Linked DNA regions of Homo sapiens: all the other regions are linked to region 1. Evidence: promoter capture Hi-C in 16 types of primary human blood cells and fetal thymus (Javierre and others, 2016). All regions are on one chromosome and are shown on one strand. Each heading gives the region's core, a stretch centred on a gene start or on the middle of the fragment in contact. The rest is flanking DNA. Distances are from core to core; before and after follow the strand shown. Region 1 holds the start of KLHL7 (kelch like family member 7). Region 2 holds the start of SPMIP4 (sperm microtubule inner protein 4). Region 3 holds the start of CYCS (cytochrome c, somatic).

What was found. Contacts are between HindIII fragments. The CHiCAGO score rates a contact against its expected background, and 5 or more counts as called.
Region 2: the fragment with the promoter of SPMIP4 here is called in contact with the fragment with the promoter of KLHL7 in region 1 in 5 of 17 cell types (naive CD8 T cells, activated CD4 T cells, total CD8 T cells and 2 more); the score reaches 12.7 in naive CD8 T cells.
Region 3: the fragment with the promoter of CYCS here is called in contact with the fragment with the promoter of KLHL7 in region 1 in 1 of 17 cell types (activated CD4 T cells); the score reaches 5.7 in activated CD4 T cells.

What each region holds. Positions count from the first base shown.
Region 1 is chr7:23,103,595-23,107,466 of GRCh38, forward strand. It overlaps KLHL7 (kelch like family member 7), which reads left to right and starts at 2,191. Exons shown (of 11, transcript NM_001031710.3): 1 at 2,191-2,552. The coding sequence starts at 2,433. It overlaps KLHL7-DT (KLHL7 divergent transcript), which reads right to left and starts at 2,109. Exons shown (of 3, transcript NR_046220.1): 1 at 1,965-2,109; 2 at 656-723. RefSeq lists enhancers at 1,379-2,365, 1,988-2,177, 2,298-2,577, 2,366-3,352, 3,058-3,137. The HindIII fragment of the contact is 5,093 bases long and covers 1-3,320 here.
Region 2 is chr7:25,178,394-25,182,265 of GRCh38, forward strand. It overlaps SPMIP4 (sperm microtubule inner protein 4), which reads right to left and starts at 1,961. Exons shown (of 10, transcript NM_138811.4): 1 at 1,269-1,961; 2 at 782-939. The coding sequence starts at 915. The region is part of intron 1 of LOC124901603 (a long non-coding RNA gene); the gene reads left to right. RefSeq lists silencers at 1,467-1,746, 1,807-2,196. The HindIII fragment of the contact is 8,567 bases long and covers 1-3,872 here.
Region 3 is chr7:25,124,010-25,127,881 of GRCh38, forward strand. It overlaps CYCS (cytochrome c, somatic), which reads right to left and starts at 1,251. Exons shown (of 3, transcript NM_018947.6): 1 at 1,191-1,251; 2 at 1-118. The coding sequence starts at 110. It also overlaps a transcript of SPMIP4 not described here. RefSeq lists enhancers at 176-720, 721-1,264, 1,412-1,661. The HindIII fragment of the contact is 6,168 bases long and covers 859-3,872 here.

The DNA of each region.
Region 1 (3,872 bases), core at 941-3,440:
TAAAAATAAAAATAAATTTAAAACTTGCAACTTGCAAAGGCTTAGATGATCATTAGCAACTTTTTGGCAACAAAGCACTTTTTAAGGTATGTGCATTGCTTTTGCAGACATAATATTATTGCACACTTAATAGACCACAGTATAGTGTAAACATAACTTGCATATGTTTTGGGAAACCAAAAAATTTGTGTGATTCACTTTACTGCGATATTTACTTTATGTGGTGGTCTGGAACAGAACCCAAAATATCTCTGAAGTATGTGTGTATTATTAACTCAGTAAAGTAATTTTAAGTGTCTTGTGCTGGCACCCCTCTAAGCATTTTTATAAACCTTACGCCAGTTCCATGTAGTAGGTTCTACTTTCACAGATAAGGAGACTGAGGCATAACAGAAGTTAATCAATTTGCCCAAAGTTGCACAACTAGAAAGTTGAGATGTTTGACTTTGCATCCAGGCAAAGTCTCATGCTTAATCCCTGTACTATATAATCTCTGTGGCCTCTTTGAGCTCTGAATCCTATGGCTCTTCCATGAACTTTGATGTTTTATATTCAGCAATATGTAAAAAGACTGTTCTAACATCAAGGACTAAGGATGCTGTTCCTCGTTTCTTTTTTGCCTTATTACAGGACAGCATTCTTTTTCATCACTTACATTTCTGCCTTTGAATCACGGATCCTTCATCTCCCAAGGCCTTAGAGTTAGAAGACAGATTTCTACTTCTTTTCAATTAAAAAAAAAAGAAAAAAATTTATTCCGTTTTTCTTCAGTGTCCTGGGTCATTTAATAAAGTGAATGAAAAATTTTCTCATTTATAATTTTATTAACAATAAATTATTCCTATTGCCAGGGTTCACCTGAAATCCCCAAATCAACTAGTTAAAATAGAGGCACATCTGAGAACCTCTAGATTAATAGAAGAAAGATAAAGAGTACAGAGACATAAGTATCTTACTCTTTTGTAAAAATTGAGGCGTATATATAGCTTGCTCTTTCATCTGGATTATGCTATATGGTTTGTCCTCAACAAGAAAAGTATACTGTGGGCCAGGCCTGGCCGCTCATTCCTGTAATCCCAGCACTTTGGGAGGCCTAGGCGGGAGGATTGCATAACACCAGGAGTTCGAGACAAGCCTGGGCAACATAGTGTGACCTCTTCACCACCACCACCACCACCACCACCACCACCAAAAAAATTTAAAAATTAAAACTTAGCCCAGAGTGGTGTTGCACGCCTGTAGTTTCAGCTACTTGGGAGGCTGAGATGGGAGGATTGCTTGAGCCCAGGAGTGCTGAGGCTTCAGTGAGCTATGATTAGCCACTGCACCGCACCCCCAGCCTGGGCGACAGGGCCGAGACCCTGCCTCCAAAAAAAAAAAAAAAAGCCTCAATGGTGTAAATTATTTTACATAAAATGTCTCTGTATAGTCCTATATAGACCGAGGAGGAAAACCAATGAGATATAAAGTTTTCATAATGTTAAATAATGTACAATTTCAAATAATCCTGTATATTACTATACAGTAGAAAGAATATGGTTACAAAAAACATTTCCATGAGGGCTGTGATTGAGTTCCGTGTTCCCGTAAAACACTTAGAGAAGCCTAACTGAAGATTTCTAGAACCGACTGACAACTGATTTCAGTTGTAAACACACAGTAAGCCAGCCTAGTTAGGCAGACATTCATTGCACGCCAAGGAGACACCAACGGGACTGTGTGCTCTTGCGTTATGAATCCCACGAAAATAAATCTTGTGCTCCGTGTAACATGACTTTAACTTGCAGTAATATCCTTTCATCATTTAATATTTATTGAGCGCCTACCATACACCAGGCTCAGATACTGCACTGAACACCGACCCTGTCCCATGAAGCCTTACACTGATGGGAGACACCTTTGCATGTTCCACAACCCAATTATCAAAAAAAAAAAAAAAAAAAAGATAATCACGTAACCGAAACCTGGAAATCTGCCTTGGGCACACAAAAGAGCAGGCGCGACCTCGGACCAGCTCCGAGGCAAAATTCACTCAGCGCGGGACAGCGACAGGGAATCCGGCCGCACCTGTGCCTGCAGTCTCATTGCTCGGAACGGCGCGCCACTGTGACGTGTCAGGCCCCGCCCCTGACTCTCCTCATAGTGCCCCCGCCTCCTTGCGCGAAGTGCGCAGGCTCCTGGGCAGGGCTCGGGTTCTGCCCGGGGACGCAGCCCAGTTGGTAGCGTCGCTCCCTGAGCGTTTCTAAGGGGGCCGCCCGGCCTTGTCTTTCGGCAGTGGCCGAGCCACCGCCGCCTGCCGCGCGTTCCAGAGCTGGGCGCTGCAGCTGCACTGCCGATCGCCGTGTTTGGTCGATAGAATCCCCAGTGTGCCCAGAGAGTGCGACCCCTCGCCCGGCCCGGCGAGCCCCGGGCGTGAACCGAGCTGAGGGAGGATGGCAGCCTCTGGGGTGGAGAAGAGCAGCAAGAAGAAGACCGAGAAGAAACTTGCTGCTCGGGAAGAAGCTAAATTGTTGGCGGGTTTCATGGGCGTCATGAATAACATGCGGAAACAGGTACCGCCTCTGTGGGAGTGACGGACGACGGTGGGAGGTGGTCCGGGGCTCGGGCCCCTGGTTCCCGGGGTGGAACCCCGCGCCCTGTGGATCGCGCCCCTCTTTCTCTGTCCTCGCCCCTCCTTCCGTTTTCGCAGGCGAGCGATTCCGCAGTTGGTAGAGGGGCGCGTAAAACAATTCTCGAGCAAAAGTGCTTCTCGTCTGCCGAGGATGTAGCTCCCAAGTCAGACTCCTGGGGGACTCCTCAGGCTGGCTTTCGCCGTCGGGTATCGGTTGTGTAACAGCTCTGCCCTAGTTATCTCTTTGTGGGGCGAGGATCCTTCCATTGGCGAGCCGTTTTAAGGTGCCGTGAGATCTTGTGTGAAGAAACCCGTTGGCATAGCCCAAACCGAAGCCCCCAAAGGGAGGAGAGTTGCTGGCCTGACATCAGCTGCTCTTAAATAAGGATCCCCGCCCCCTCCTGTGTTCCCCGGTGGAGCTAGTTGAAGAGGAGTCCTCCTGTTCGTGCTAATTTAGAGCAGAAGCAGCCATCGATAAATACCATGCCATCTTCTAAGGGCACTGTGCGCCTCTGTTATTAAGAGGAGCTCTTTGTTCTGTCCTTGGTGTGTGGTGCATTCGTGAAATTCTGCAGCACATCGGCGAAAGGTGGGTTATGAAAAGAACGGATTTTAACGCTGGCGAAGGTGAAACAAAGAGGCTTTTTTTTTTTTTAATTCCATAACATCTACACCGATAAGCATAGAAAGTCACTTTTTCCTTTCTGTAAGCTTTATTTATAGATAATACACATCTAAGTAGATTTGTGGGAATGTTTGGGTTTTGTTGACTGGGATCCTGTTTCAAGGGGACAAAGCAGGATGTGAGTTATGTGTAACTGCAAAACCTAGTTTGCTTTGTCTGGTGGTTCTGCTGGGAATATGGGCAACAGTAGAGGAATTTAAGATTTTTATGAAGATATTAACTTCTGGTTTCTATAAGCAAACGCTGACTGCTGGGATTTTGTCTTTGTTCACCAGCTCCTGCTACAGTGCACCAGTGCAGTCTGTGGGAATGCTTTTAAATCTTTCCTGGCCTGGCCTTTGTGCTGAAGTACTGTGAATGCCTGAATTCGTTAATTTATGTAACTGACTTTCATGTATCTATTTTCAAATTCATGTTCCTTTCATGTAAACCTTTTTGTATCTACAATACCACAGACTTCAAATTGCTGGTGCATTTAGCTATTGCCTGCCTGTAATGGTAGTTGAACATAGTTAACCAGGGCTTAAACTCGTTGAAGACTCATTAGGTTCCCTCCCACTCCCTCGAATATATGTT
Region 2 (3,872 bases), core at 711-3,210, 2.1 Mb after region 1:
GAAATCACCAAACTGCTTTTCATAAATTAAATCATAATGTATAATTAATGTGTTACAGGGAATTTGGTGAAGCAAAAATTTACACAAGTATAAGCAGCAAATTCTGGGAGTATTTTTGGGCAGATGGTAGAAGGGCATGTTAGGGAACCAATACAGTACTATTTATAAAAGTCTTTGCTTACAACATATTAATTTCCCAATGAAGGAACGGACCATTCTAAGATTTTAGAATGTAGTGGATGAATTTGATGTGTGGCTTTTATAGTAGACAGCCACTTACTTCTCGAGTTCCTTACAGACACTTGAAGGTTCAGATAATTGCCACGTTTTGCCTTCCCTATTATATGATAAGCAGAAGAGCCCCGGCCCGGCGCAGTGGTCACGCCTGTAATCCCAGCACTTTGGGAGGCCGAGGTGGGTGGATCATTTGAGGTCAGGAGTTTGAGAACAGCCTGGCCAACATAGTGAAACCCTGTCTCTACTAAAAATGCAAAAATATTAGCTGGGCATGGTGGTGCATGCCTGTAATCCCAGCTACTCTGGAGGGTGAGGCAGGAGAATCACCTGAACCTGGGAGGCAGAGGTCCCAGTGAGCCGAGATCGCACCACTACACTCCAGCCTGGGCGACAGAGCGAGACACCGTCTCAAAAACAAACAAACAAACAAACAAACAAGAAACAGAAGAGCCCCAGAACAATAAATGTTTTTCCTCACATAATAAAATACACGAATACATTAAAACTGCTTTTTCTTGTTTGCTTTTTCTAGTTTTTGTTTTACCTGTCCTCTGAGGCAGTTGGGCGAGTAACCGTCTGGAGGGGGTTGTGCAATTCATTAGAGTAAAAGGTGTTGGACAGTATGTCAGCTCCTTCAAGCTCCCTGCAACAGTAGGGCCTGCCGTGAATGACTTCCATGCTTCTTGGCTAAAAAGGCACAACCTGGAAAAGAAAAGGAGGGCACATTTGGCTTGTCGAGTCAAGGCAGGCAGAAAACACATTTTACACTGCTAAATTGTTCAACCTGACGCTGCACAGACGTCACAGGCTTCCCTCTGCACTGAAAGCCGTCAAATCAGTAATAAATAGAGACCTAAATAAGTTCTATGGAAATAAATTTCAACTGAAACAAATCCACAAAGTGGACGGTGCCTCCAAGTAGTCACCAGAATGATCATCCAGTAGGTTCGTACCAGTCCGCTACTTTGTGGCCATCAACTGACATTCAATTCCTGCCTTAAATTTAACTATAACTATTCAAGAAAACTCACTTGACTTTTAGCCTGTGGTCTTTCCGAAAATTAGAGACTCTTCATTCAACAAAATAAGCGCTGTCCTAAAGCCTTCGGGGATTCTGGACAAGAATCCCTTTGCAGATGGTGGAGTCAGTAGTGCAGCACGAACGGGACCCTAAAGGGGATTCCCGGTTTCCAACTGCGTCGGGGAGAATCCCACCTCTCTCTCGGACTTGGGGGAAGGCCAGGAGCCGGCGTAGCTGGGACCAAGGGTGCCAGGGGTCGAGGCCGAGCCTCACGGGCTGTCACTGCCCTGCAAGCGGTGCCTCGGGGGTCTGGACATACCTGGGACATGAGCCTGGGGGCGCTGCGGGACCGCGCCTCCCCTCCCCTCCCCGCAGCTGGCGGCCTTCGCGGGCCGAGGAATTTTGAGGTCGTCCGCACCTACGGCCCGGTGGAGCTGGCAGGCAGGGGCGGGGGCGGGAGAAGGACGGCGGGCAGGCCGGGGTGGGGTGGGGCTGGGGGCGCTTGTGACGGTGGCCGTGACCGCGGCATTAGGTGATGCGTCCTTGAGGGGCTGGGGGCTTCCGGGCGGCGAGCGGGGCGCAGTAGGAGGCTCTTAGAGACCTCGGAGGAAACCAGCCCAGCGCTACGGGACTGGCAAGAATGCGAAGAGGAACCGAGAGTGAACGGAGTGCGAGGCGCCGGGTCGGAGGCGAGAGGGGCTCTTCCGCCTTGCGACCCCTGGCCCCGCCTCCCGGTCCCTTGCCCCGCCCCTCTCGGCTCACCGCCCTGCCTCCAGTCGGACCCCGCCTTGCCCCACCCGCGCCCCGCCCCCAGGCGCCCTCTAGCGGCGGCGGCGATGGCGATACCAGTTTCTTTTTCCAGGGCTACCAGGTCTGGAGCTGTCTCAGGGCCGGCCAGGGAGCTCTCTCATGTGGACTGGGCGGAGGAGGAAGAGCTCCGGTCCAGTGGAGTCCCTGGTGAGGTCGGAGCATCCGACCTGTCCTCCCTCCCCAGGTCACCTCGCAAAAATTGGGGACAGTGTGGCCAGATAGAGGGTGGAGTCTGCAGGATTCTGAAACTGCAGCCCCTGGCATGGCGCCCTAACAGAGTCTCTGCTCCTTCCCTGGTGGGTGCGGACATGGCAAAGTCCTTTACTTGCCTCGTCCCCAGGGCCTAGCCCCACCTTGATTACCTCAGTTTTCCCCAAAAGATACAAATGTGAGCCATGAATCTGCACCTACAGGGTCATGAGTTCCTGTGATGGCTGACAATAAGGGATGTCACCCCCCCCTCGCCACCTGCCACCCCATCAAGGAATGGGATGTGAGGAGGTTAGGTTGTGTGTATATGTGTGATATGGTTAGGCTTTGTGTCCCCACTCAAATCTCATCTTGAATTGTAATACCCATAATCCCCGCTTGTCAAAGGAGAGACCAGGTGGAAGTAATTGGATCATGGGGGCAGTTTCCCCCATGCTGTTCTCGTAATAGCGAGTGAATTCTCACGAGATCTGATGGTTTTATAAGAGGCTCTTCTCCCTTCTCCCAGCACTTTTCCTTCCTGCCCCCTTGTGGAGAAGGTAACTGCTTCTCCGTGGCCTTCTGCCATGATTGTAAGTTTCCTGAGGCCTCCGCAGCCATGTGAGATTGTGAGTCAACTAAACCTCCTTCGTTTATAAATTACCCAGTCTTGGGCAGTTCTTTACAGCATTGTGAGAAAAGACTAATACAGTGTGGGAGGCTAGAAATGAGCCTGCAGGAACCAGAAGGTGAGGGTGAGAATGACCACCTCTGAGAAGAAGGGCGTTGAAACTGTGTGCCAAAGAGTTAAAGAAAACAGTCATAGAAATTCTTGAGTTTACAGGATGGCAGATAAAAGAAACAAATTGCTGAAATGCTGAAATGCCTGGGCTTGTAGGTTAATAAAACTGGCTGAAATCCACTGGAACATATAAGGCCAACTAGAGTCTGCACAGATCCAGCTTGCTGACCTTACAGCTGAATTTCTACTGCCATGTTTCATACTAACTCCTCACTGAATTTGCACGTGGAACCCTTAGGTAGCATGAAGAAATAAGAGCACATGCGCAAGGACTTTCCAGACTTCCTCTTTCCTTCCACCAAGCACCTGCTAATCCCAGAATCCACACTCAAAACCATTTCTAATAAAATAATTGTCCTAAAGCCAGCACAGGGAGACAGATTTGAGCTGGACTTCCTATTTCTTTGTTGGTTGACATGCAATAAAAGTTTTTATTTTATCAAAAACCCAGTGTTATAGTATTGACTTCTAGTGCCTCGGGCAGCGAGCCTCCTTTGCTTGGTAACAGTATGATGGTGCCTTTGCTATTCTCTGCCTACTTTACAACTTTCTACTAACCAACCAGTGGGCATTCATTTTGTGCTGTGCCTTCTATGTGAGTGTTACCTGGAGTGGGGGAAGAAAGGTGTATTGAAGTAGGCACAGTGGTAATTTTGTAGTCTTGGTTTATTTCTTAGTTCCTGCACCTCTGCCGACCTTCCAGTAGTTACCACCCACTAAGCCTAGAGGAATAGATCCTGCTGGAGACAGAGTTGTGTATTAGGTGAAACTGGCTTTTATCTTTGACATCTTTATTTCCCCTCCAATTTCTGG
Region 3 (3,872 bases), core at 1-2,500, 2.0 Mb after region 1:
AAGAGACCATGGAGATTTGGCCCAGTCTTGTGCTTGCCTCCCTTTTCAACGGTGTGGCACTGGGAACACTTCATAATAAAAATCTTCTTGCCTTTCTCAACATCACCCATATTTAATTCTAAAAACGAAAGCTTCAACTTAGTAAATTTTTCCTCAGGTAACAAATACAGTGTAAATGAATGACCACTCTAGCCACTTAATTACCAATCCATTGCTAATTTATGTCATTAAATACCAGAATGAATCTTGTTTTGCTTTAATACTCTTTATACCAAATATTCTTTAATACCAAAAACATTTTTAGGAGTACCTCCTCAAAAACGTATTTTTGTGTGTATACGTGAAGGAACGTTAAAGCCCAAGCAAAGAGGGAACCTAATTCAAACTCCAGTTTCAGAAGAGACAATCATGGTCACGAAGTCACAGATCTGAAGCTCAAGGGCGAACACATTAAGCCAAAATCACCACAACCGCAACTTTTAAAAAGACCTAACCATTTAATCTTACTACAATGTAAAGCCACCTCTCCCTGAGGATAACGCAAAGCACACAAATGTTTAAAAAGCGGTCCTGGCTGTTTCTATCTGCCCAGGTCACAGGAGTAGCTTGACACTCGAACTTGTGAATGGGAGCTCAGGGGCAGGCTGCACGGTCCCCCGGGGACATCCCAACTCCCCTACCTGTGATCTCCTGGGGCGACCACGAGGTCACCCGTCCAGGTCGGTTTCAAGGTGATTGATGAAACTCCTTCTAGGATGTCAGAACGACTGACGGAAGAAACATGTGCCCACGAAAAGAACTGGCCCCTTATTAGAAGAGCAACAGCTTTTGCCCTCTGAAGAAGAACGTGAAGCTCTAAGCTTCGGCTTTCCAGGAGGGAAGTCTTGCCTATCATTTCCATAGCCCTTCAGCAACCACTACGGAAGAGGCCGCCTCCTCCTCGGATCTGTATCCAAGCCGCCTCCAGTCCCTGACCGAGACCATACCTGTCCCTAGTTAGGGCTCCGCCGCACCTCAAGCCGTTACTCGCCCAGCTCGGTCTGACCACAGTCCAGGGTCTTCACTCCCCGCCCTCCCACCCAGCGCGGGCTCCACTCGAATGCTCCCCGCTTGGGTTTCGGTCGCTCGCAAGTGCGCGCCTCCCACAGCTCTGCCTCTAACCAGGTGCGGCCTCCGCGACCCGCTCTCACCTCTTTTTAGTCGCTGGCACAACGAACACTCCCGCTCCGAAGCCGGACGTCCCCACTCTCTAAGTCCAAGGACACGCCGGTCCGCGCTTAAGTACCGGTGTAAGTGCAACCAAACTCGCTCCGCGCTCCCGCGCCCTGACGTGCGGCCGAGCTGGCGGCTACGCAGTAACGTCGCCGCACCTCATTGGCTCCAGTCCCAATGCCTGCGCCAAGGACCTGCGCGCGCATGCTGGCGAGCATGTTAGGGTGTACGGCGTGCGTGCCCTTCTTCTCGAGGCTTTTCCCGGCCGTTACGACAGGCCTTTGGTCGTACGACAACGAGGTGGTGTCGGGAGAGGTGACGTCACTCGCGGGCCTCTGTGCGCTTGCGTGTGCTGGAGGAGCGGGGAGGGTGGGGCGGAGTCGCTTGGTTGGTGCGTTGCCCTGCTAAAGTATCAGTTCTTGGGCGTGGTGATGTAATGAGCTTTGAGCAGGGCGTTTTGCCGGTCCAGGAAAAGACGCCCTAATTTTGGCGCACCTAGAGGTCTCCTAGCTACCATCTTGTCAGCAGGCGACCTTTACCCAGACTCTGTCCTACTACCACGGCTGGCGCCAACAGCATCCTAGAGGGACAGCCTGGAACCAGGAGTTACACGAGTTGGGCACCAGCTCGTGACCTTGTTCTAGTTCCACCTATACTCTGTTACTTTCAGTCACATTCCAGCTCTCCGCTTGATGGACGCCCCAAGACTGAGGAAGGTGCTGCATTTGCGGCAGAGACAGGATTATCCCTCTGGAACTGAAAAATAAAATTAAGAGGATGCAATGATAACATTTATGTACCTTTTAAAATTTTTATGAGTACGAAGTAGGTAAATATATATATATACTTAAGAGGTACATGAGATATTTTGATACAGGCATACAATGTATAATAATCACATCAGGGTAAACGGTCTATCCATCACCTCAAGCATTTATCCTTTTTTTCTGTTACAAGCAATCCAATTATACTTTTAGTTTGTTTAATGTACAATAAATTATTGTTGAGTGTAGTCACCCTGTTGTATTACTAGACCTTATTCATTCTTCTTCAGTGGCGCCATTTAATGTCTCAGCCCCCCAAGTAGCTGGGACTACGGGAGCAAACCACCACGCCCAGCTAATTTTTGTATTTTTAGTAGAGATGGGGTTTCACTATTTGGTCAGGCTGGTCTCGAACTCCTGACCTCAGGTGATTCACCCGCATCGGCCTCCCAAAGTGCTGGGATTACAGGTGTGAGCCACCACGCCCAGGGCAAATAATATTTTATAACCCATTGTTTTAAACTGATGACAACATAACATTGATTGCATAAACAAAAATCAAAGAGAAAACTAAGAAAAACTCTGCACTTTAACTTCACTCTCCCCACTTTTAAAACTTTTTCTTGTTTCTATTTATATATTATTATACTATGTCTTGAAAAGTTGTTATAGCTATTATTTTTGATAAGTTAGGTTAATCTCTAAGTCTTTCTACTCAAGATATGAACAGTTTACACACAATTACAGTATTATAATATTGTGTGTTTTTCTGTGTACTTACTATTAGTAGTGAGTTTTGTACCTTCAGGTGGTTTCTTATTGCTTACGAATGTCCTTTTCTTTCAGACTGAGGAACTCCCTTTAGCATTTCTTGTAGGACAGGTCTGGTGTTGATGAAATCCCTCAGCTTCTGTTTGCCTGGGAAAGTCTTTATTTCTCCCTCACATCTGAAGGATATTTTCACTGGATGTACTATTCTAGGATAAAAGTTTTTTCCCTCAGCACTTTAAATATGTAATGCCACTCCCTCCCGGCCTGTAAAGTTCCACTGATAAGTTTGCTGCCAGACTTATTAGAACTCCTTTTTATGTTATTTGTTTCTTTTCTCTTGCTTGCTTTTAGGATTCTTTCTTTATCCTGGATCTTTGGGAGTTTGATTATTAAATGTTTTGGGGTGTCTTCGTTGGGTTAAATCTGCTTGGTGTTTTATAACCTTCTTGTACTTGAATATTGATATCTTTCTCTAGGTTTGGGAAGTTCTCTGTCATTATCTCGCTGAATAAACTTTCTACCCTGATCTCTCTCTCTAGCTCCTCTTTATGGCCAGTAACTCTTAGATTTGCCCTTTGAAGCCAGTTTCTAGATCTTATAGGTGTACCTCATTCATTTTTATTCTTTTTTCTTTTGTCTCTTCTGAGTGTGTATTTTCAAATAGCCCATCTTCAAGCTCACTAATTCTTCCTTCTGTTTGATCAATTCTGCCTGTAAGGGACTGCATTTTTTAGTACGTTAATTGGATTTTTCAGCTTCAGAATTTCTGCTAGATTCTTTTTAATTGTTTTAATCTCTGTTAAATTTATCTTGTAGAATTCTGAATTTCTTCTCTGTGTTATCTTGAATTTTGTTGAGCTTCCTCAACACAGCTATTTTGAATTCTCTGTTTGAAAAGTCACATATCTCTTTCTCTCTGGAATTGGTCACTTGTGCCTTCATTAGTTTGTTTGGTGAGGTCGTGTTTACCAGGGTGGTCTTGATGCTTGTGGATTTTTGTTGGTGTCTGGGCACTGAAGAGTTAGGTATTTATTATTGTCTTCACAGTCTGGGCTTTTTATTTTTTTGTATCCACCCTTCTTGGGATGGCTTTCCAAGTATTTGAAGGGACTTGGGTGTTGTGAT